2 separate regions of the Homo sapiens genome follow, and region 2 is linked to region 1. The links are contacts of gene promoters, found by promoter capture Hi-C in human tissues and cell types (Jung and others, 2019). All regions are on one chromosome and are shown on one strand. Each heading gives the region's core, a stretch centred on a gene start or on the middle of the fragment in contact. The rest is flanking DNA. Distances are from core to core; before and after follow the strand shown. Region 1 holds the start of TUBA1A (tubulin alpha 1a). Region 2 overlaps KMT2D (lysine methyltransferase 2D).

Region 1 (5,425 bases), core at 834-3,333:
AAATGCTGCATATGGGTGTGGTCTGAATAATGATGTCGCCTTGGCCCTGTTCAGCACGTGGTACCAGCCCATTGTGCCTACTACCATGCTTGAATAGAAGATTTTTCATATTTAAAAAGTATTCAGTATTCAAAGCACAAATTTTGTAAAATGAAGTAAATCCAATTATGACTTAATTGGGATTAATTTTACTGCTTTCTTCCCTTTTAAATAAAGATGAAAGTTTCCTCTGAATAGGACTTGATATTATAATCCGGACATCTGTACTGCAGCTGAGGCAAGAAGCCACACCCTTCTGCAGTCTGTCTGCAGAATCCATCAATACTAGGAGTTTAGACAAGGTCTGCCTTCTGCATTGCTGCATTGCTGTATTTGCTGTGCCTGGTGCTAGCCTGTACTGTCTGCTACATTATTTAACAGAGCAAGCTCTATTTCCAGCAGCTGCCTACATGATCTCATTGTGCTGTTTTGCCAGTTTTCCTCCTCTGACCCCGCCCGGGACCATGTGCCTGAATTGAAATGAATTAATTAAGATGCACTGGAACAAAAGACAACGGGATGCGGAGTATAATTCTTCTTTGTCTGTAGCAATTTCATTACTTTTTTTTTTAAAAAAAAAGGTTTTTCCAGATCTTCTCCACTGTAAAAGCTGAAAAATTATCCGTATCTTAACACACACACACACAAAAGTTCCTAAGTTAGAAACAAGCATCACATGAAAAGGTACCAAAGAATAAAAGCCCAGTGGAAGGATAATGAAATATTTATTTAAAACAACAAAATAGTATTTTCATCCTGAGATTCTCTACCCATCACATAATATTCATATTCTTTGCATCCAATAGAGGTTTTCTTCTCTGTGGTCTTTAGGGCTACCACTTTCATTGTCTATTCGCTGATGTGGTGGGGGCGGGGCGGGGGGGCGGCGGGGAAGGGCGTTTCCCTGGGTCCTGACCATCAGGGTACCCTGGGGCTCACAAAGTGGGCTTTCTCCCTCGCTGAACGTGCAGTCCAGACAGACAGACAGACACACACACACACACACACACACTTCAGTCGGTCAGGGCAGGGCGTCCCACAGACACACACACACACACACACACACACACACACACACTTCAGTCGGTCAGGGCAGGGCGTCCCCAGACCAGACATTAAAGAGCTTGTGAAGTGAATTATGATTTTGCTCAAGAAAAAAAAAAGTCATCTAACTTATAATAGTGAAGAAAACCCTTTTGGAGCCTACAGTTCCGCAATGATGAAAGGTTTTTTTGTTTTTTTTTCAGTCAGCTCCTGACAGAAGAGGTTCAGTGAGGGCGAACCCCGCCCAGTGGCTCCAACGCCATAGAAGCCAGAAACAAACAACCCCGCCCCTGCGCCGCCCTGACACCCGCTGCCGGGGGCTCCGGCAGAAACTCACCATGTTTTCCCGGGAATGTGTGGGTATCTTTCCAAAACGCCAAAGACCGCGGAGGGTCTTCCCACGCTAACCCTAGGCTGCGCTTTGTTCCCGTTCCCCCTCCCACGTCCCCCAGCTCGCCCAACGCCCCCGCTCTTTTTGGGTGCCTCCTCCTCTCCCGGTCCCCAGAGAACAACGCGAGACAGAAAGTGGCCCCTCAGCATCAGCGAAACCGTGCGCACAGACACGGGGCCCAGCCGGGACGCCCCAGACCCCTCGGTCGCGGCAGACGGGCTGCCCGCGGCCCCCGAAAGTCTCTCGGATAACACAGGCGCCTAGGCGCCGCCTTTGTTCCTCCCCAGCGCTCTGCTGCGCCCTGGGCGCAGTACTGGCCCGGTTCCTGCACCCGCACTGCGGCGGCGGCGGGGCTTGAGGATTTGGGGCTAAGCTAAACCTCACAAAACATACCACCACCCTCGCCCAGAGAGCTTACGAAAGAAAAGAGCTTAAAGGTTTTCCAAGTAGAGCCTGGGGGCGCTGACTCCACCCAACGGCCACAAAGAGCCGAAGCCGATTCTCACCATGGTTGCTGCTTCGCGACTGCCGAGCTGATGGCGGAGACGAAGAGGAGAGGTTGTTGCTTCTTACAGCGCGACTCTTAGGCGGTCGATGTAAGAGAACCTGCGGCACATAGGCGGATGCGGCTCCCTATATACAACTCGGTCACCATGGGGATGGGCCGGGGCCTTTTCCTGTTGGTCCAGACCCCCAATCTGCCCAGAGAAGCCATGACAGGAGACTGGTGATTGGTGCAAGCGACGTGGGATGAGGTAATCTCTCCCCCACCCCTTTTTCTCTAGCATCCGTAGACTGTTTGCATCCTTTAGACAAAGAGACCGTGCAGAAGCAGTCGGCCGAGCATCCATTATGGGGCGGGGTTGGGGAGGGGCGGAAGGAGAAGAAAGGGGACTGGGGTTAGAAGACTTTCTGTTGCTTAAACCTCAAACTGCAGTTAAAATTATCTATGTGAGGTTTTTTCCCCCTACCCTTAATAACAATTTATGTTTAGATTAAATATTTAAAGGAAAATGACTGCCAGCCCCTCCCTCGTAGTATATTAAACTCGACTACATTTTGTTAGGGTTCAACATCTCTAATTGCTTTAAACGTAAAGTGGGAGGGAAAATCGGCATGATGCTCGAAATGGCCTGGGTATATGTGATTTTTTTAATTTAAAAAAAGATTTAGCCATACGGTCATTCCAAATGGTTTCTCAGGTTCAACTAACTTATTTTCAGAGCTTCTTCTGCAGGCACACGCACACCCGAATAGCTAAACAAAACTGGAAGATGGAAAGAATAACCATATTAAATAAAGAAGCGAACAAATAGTTCTAACATGGCAATAATCAAGAGCAAGTGAACGTAGAGTAGTTATAATGGTTTACTAGAGGTATTCTTTTATGAGAAGTCTATGTAACACATTTTGTATGGTACATTGTCCTTTGGAATGAATCATCTTTCCTGATAGAAAATTGGGAAAATACAAGGAGAAATAATTGAGCTCAGAAGTTAGTACTACATGTGTGCAGTTACATATCTGAATTGGACTTTTGTCTGGAAAGTAACAAGCAAAATAATAGTAATAACCAATACACCAAATTAAAAAGAAGAAGAGAATAATATAATGTAAAAAGAATTTTGCAATGTCGCCTCCATCCACAGACAACTGTGAAACATCAGCTCAATAAACGCATTTCCTTTTTATGTAGTTCTTATGTCAATTTGGTAAATATCCTCCTGCGAGTGGGCTTCTAACTGTGGGAATTTTAGCCGGCCTCACACCCTTGCTGTTCAGCTAGAGACTCTGGTGGTTGCTCAGTTGTCCCTTGGGACAAAAAGGCTTTGCTTTCACCCCTAGGAAATAAATTGGAGTAAAATTATCTTGATATTTAGGAAGCCTCCATTCTCAGCAACGATCCGGAGTAAGTCACTGGACTTCGTACCACTGGATGTTGGTGATGAAATTTCAGAGGTAAATAAGTTTGGCCACTAAAGTTGAAAATTTATTTTTTACAAATAATTTTTCCTTTTGGTTTTCAGAGACAAATTTTCAGGGTCTGCAGCACTACTCACACAGTGCTCTGCGGAACCCATTCATTCCTGCTAGGCTGGCAGGCTAAGAAGGGCGTGGGAGGGAGGGACTTGAGAATACAGCTGCTGCAGGTTGTGGTGTGACAATGGCGACCACAGATTTTTCTAGCCTGCCATCCACAGTTCTGCTTTACTTGATCAATTTTGCTTCAGTAATATTCTCTGGAAAAAAAATAATATCCAAAATGCAAAAATCATTTTATCTACTTATTGTATATTTCCTAGGAAAAAATAATCCTCAACATCATCTTATCTCCACTTCTTTAGCAAAAAAAAAAAAAAAGTATATTTCAGAAGAGACAGGAGGATTAGGTATTTGAATGCTTCTTTCAGAACCCAGAAATATATTTAACAAAAATAAGAATTAAATGGCATAAGGAAGCATAAGGATTAATAAGTAGCTCATTCAAAATACTTTCACAATTTTAATAATAAAATATATCAGACACTATTGGACTATAGTAACATGTACAAGTCTTTTTGGAATGAGAAGCAGAGTTTGAACATTATTTTCTTTACAATATAAAAAGATTAATTAAGAAATATGTCACTTATCCAATAGTCTCAGTTCTTTATGCAATTTCCAAAGGATTAAATAAAAGAGAGGAGGGTTCACGTGGTTGATTCTTTGAAATTCTATCTCAGAGCCATTCTGTTCCTTATGTAAATGAGGGTTATTCCCTCCGCTTGGGCATATGTAACAAGATCTAGGTCAGAAATAGACTATTTAGGCACTGATAATCTCAAATATATAAACAAGAGATCGGGGAAATAACTAATCTATAATTTTTGTTCTTTATTATCTGATTTAATAGCACTCAAACTGTGGAAAGGAAAACAATACTTTTTTTACTAGTTCATCTCTTATTTTTATTGCCATTTAAAAAAATTTGACATCAATATACATGTACAAGTATTCTGCTAATGGATTCATTCTTGTACACAGTAAGATTAGCATAAAACATTCTTCTTTCATAATATTTGTAGAATTTTAATCATTTATTCACATGTCTACATTTCTCCTCCATTAAAATGTAAGTCCTAATTCCTGTCAAAGTGCCTAACTACAGTAGACGTTATACACTACATGTTTGCTCAATTAAATGAACAGCTCTCTGTGCAGTTTCTTTCTCTTTCTTTCTTTCTTCCTTTCTTTCTTTCTTTCTCTCTCTCTCTCTCTCTCTCTCTCTTTCTTTCTTTCTCTCTTTCTTTCTTTCTTTTTTTTGAGATGGAGTCTCATTCGGTTGCCCAGGCTGGAGTCAGTGACATGATCTCAGCTCACTGCAACCTCCGCTTCCCGAGTTCAAGCGATTCTCCTGCCTCAACCTCCCGAGTAGCTGGGATTACAGGTGCTGGCCACCACACCCAGCTAATTTTTGTGTTTTTAGTAGAGACGGGGTTTCGCCATGTTGGCCAGTCTGGTCTTGAACTCCTGACTTCAGGTGATCCACCTGCCTCAGCCTCCTAAAGTGCTAGGATTACAGGCATGATCCATGGTGCCCGGCCTGTGCAGATTTTCATTACCTATTATCATGCTTAGTAATGTAAAGATATTGGCCAGAGCGGTGGCTTACTCCTGTAATCCCAGCACTTTGGGAGGCCAAGGTGGTGGGCCACCTGAGGTTAGGAGTTTGAGACCAGCCTGGACAACATGGTGAAACCCTGTCTCTATCAAAAACATAAAAATTAGCCCTTGCGCAGTGGCTCATGCCTTTAATCCCAGCACTTTGGGAGGCCGAGGCAGGGGATTATTTGAGTTCAGGAGTTCGAGACCAGCCTAGCCAACATGGCGAAACCCCACCTCTACTAAAACAAAACAAAACACCAGCCAGGTGTGGTGGCTTGTGCCTGTAATCCCAGTTATTGTAGAGAT
Region 2 (2,500 bases), core at 1-2,500, 150 kb before region 1:
TACTGTGTAGTTTGTGCTTTGAGGCTTGCCCAAGGTGGGGCCGGGCCCAAAATGGCTGTTGATCCCATGGGGTGGCGGGAGACCAGGCTGAGGGACAGGGGGCTTTAGGGAAGGCTCCCCTACTGCCTGAGGGAAAGTGAAACGCATGGGAGAGGGGGTGCCCACAAATGCACCCGTCCCAGGGGACCGGACAAAATTGGGGGGCTGCCCACTTGGGACCTTGGCATGGAGCTCACCTGCTGGCCCCGCGGGCAGGGCTGCTGGGAACCCCCCAGCCCCCAGCGAAGTGTGGGCTAGAGACCCAGCCTTAAAGGCAACTTCAGGGGGCTGGGGTCGGGGTGGCTTATGCAATGGGGCAAATGGGTCACGGGACTGAGGGCGTGAGGGTGGGCGAGAATAAGGGTCAGGGGACTGGAAGCGAGGGGTAACGGGTGATGGGCAAAAAGCTTCAGCAGACAGAGGCCGGGGTGTCAGTGGAGACTGGGAGCTGGACTGGGACTGAGGACTGGCAGGCACTCGGGAGAAAGGGTCGGAGGGCAGTGAGCGAGGGGGCAGAGCACAGCAGCTCTCAGGGGGCGGAGGTTGGGGCCGAGGAGTCAATGGGGGCTGAGCATATGGGTCAGTGTAGGAGCCAGGGCGAAAGATGTCTGGGTGACTTGGAGGAGAAGGTGCCAAAGCCTGGGCAGGGGGTGGCTCCTGGGGCCTTAGGCCCAAGCCCGGGCTCTGGGGCTCTACCTGAGATGCCCGAGGGGTCAGGGGGGCTTTGAAGACATCAGGTGTCTTTAACTCCAGGCCACCCAGGTGGGTGCCTGAGGAGGGTGAGTCAACAAAGCCCAGGTTTGGGGGCCCATAGCTAGGAGAGGATGCCCCAAGCTCTTCCTTCTTCACCTCTAGGGCCTTCCGGGACTCCCCAAAAGGTGGGGGCGAGAGCAGGGGCTCGGAAGCTTTGCCTCCCCCTACCCCAGGGCTCTCAGGCACAGCCAAGTTATCCAGCGAGGGGCAGCGGGGTTTGAGGAATGGGTCAGGTGTGGAGGGCTGGTGTCTGGGGGTGCCAGGTGGGGTAGTGTGGAATTCCCCTGGCTGGCCAGCCCCAGGACGAGATGAGGCGCCCAGCATCGGGGGCTGCGCAGGGGCCCCCGTAGGACTAGGATAGGGGGGATAGGTGGGCGGTGCCGTGGGGAAGCGGGGCTCCAGGGGATAGGCAGGGGCCAGTCCAAAGGGGTCCTGCGAAGGCACTTGGGCGGGCACCTGGGGTGGGAGCTTGAGGAAGAGCTCACCAGGCGAGTCAGGGCCAGGCACCGAGCCCGCCGGCGGCTTCAGGAACCCGTCCGCAGAGGTAGACAAGCCGGCGGGGGTAGTGGGGCTGCCAATGAAAATGGTGGGGGCAGCAGCGGGGGGCGGGCTGCCCAGTGCCCCTGGCTGCGGGGGAATGCGGAGATGTAGGGCCGGTCGGTCAGTCTTACGGGCTATGTCGCCCACCTTGGTCTGCTTGTTGATCTGGCTCTCAGCCTGCTACAGGGGGAGACCAGGCATAGGGCAGTCAGGCTGCTGCAGGCAGGCCCCATGGCCCTCCACCCTCAAGAGAGGCCACCCACTAGAGGACTGCTACACCCCAGCCCAGCCCCACTCACCTTCTGCACCTTGTTGATGCGGTGAGCTGCCCGGTTATCTTTGGCCTTTTGCTGAGGGATATGGGACACAGCCTTAGGGCCTAGTGCTTGGTCTCATGCCCCGCCCCCATACTGTAGTGTTTTCACACTCCCTACCCAGAAGCAGATCCCTTCTGGCCCAGCTGCTTTAGGAGTGGGGAGCGGAAAGAACTGAGGTAAATTACCCAAAGATCCCTCCCTCCCTCTCAGTTCCCACGCTAATCCATGCTCCTTTCTGCCTCACCAGGTAGGGGGCTTTGTCAGCTGCTGGAACCTTTCTCCAGAGCTTCATGATTTGTTTGCAACGGCTTGACCAGTCTGGAGGGCAGAGAGAGTGAGTCAGAGAAGACTTGGCAGGCGACTCCTCCACCTGCCATGTTGCCAGGCTGTCTCCCTTGCCCTCATCCCACAGGTACCTGGGTAGTCTTGCTTGAGATTAGGAAAATTAATGTTGGCATAGAGCACAGGTGAGATGGTGGACAGCTGGCCCAACTCCTCATCCTTCTCCCAGCGCTGAAGACTCCGCTGGTTATAGGAGAGTCCGTCGCCCTCACCCTCCGTGGTGGGGGTTGTGGGGGTGGAGGGCGTGGTGCCACCTGAGCCCGTCCAGGGGCTGTCGGGCTCACCGGGTTCCGGGCTAAAGAAGCCCCCGCGCTCCCTGGGGCGCAGGGGCAGAGAGTCACAGGGCGCAGGGATGCCAAGTCCCACCCCAGACAAACTGCCTAGAGCCCCAGGCCACTGCCCTGCCCCAAAAGAGGAGGGTCACTAACAAGGGAATGGGGAGGAGCAGGGGAAGTGCTGCAGGAGTCCGAGGGAGGCAAAGCATGAACTCAGATGGAGGGAAAGGACAA

What was found. Contacts are between HindIII fragments. The study calls those that stand out against the background at their distance.
Region 2: a fragment that was not itself captured here is called in contact with the fragment with the promoter of TUBA1A in region 1 in 4 of the 25 tissues and cell types used here (dorsolateral prefrontal cortex, lymphoblastoid cells, mesenchymal stem cells and 1 more).

What each region holds. Positions count from the first base shown.
Region 1 is chr12:49,186,997-49,192,421 of GRCh38, forward strand. TUBA1A (tubulin alpha 1a) reads right to left here and starts at 2,084. Exons shown (of 4, transcript NM_006009.4): 1 at 1,981-2,084. The coding sequence starts at 1,983. RefSeq lists enhancers at 1,763-2,354, 1,853-1,972. The HindIII fragment of the contact is 17,236 bases long and covers 1-5,425 here.
Region 2 is chr12:49,040,024-49,042,523 of GRCh38, forward strand. It overlaps KMT2D (lysine methyltransferase 2D), which reads right to left. Exons shown (of 55, transcript NM_003482.4): 29 at 2,066-2,307; 30 at 1,894-1,967; 31 at 1,632-1,682; 32 at 1-1,512. Among named protein-coding and RNA genes, the nearest start is that of KMT2D, 20 kb to the right of the region's middle. The HindIII fragment of the contact is 6,740 bases long and covers 1-2,500 here.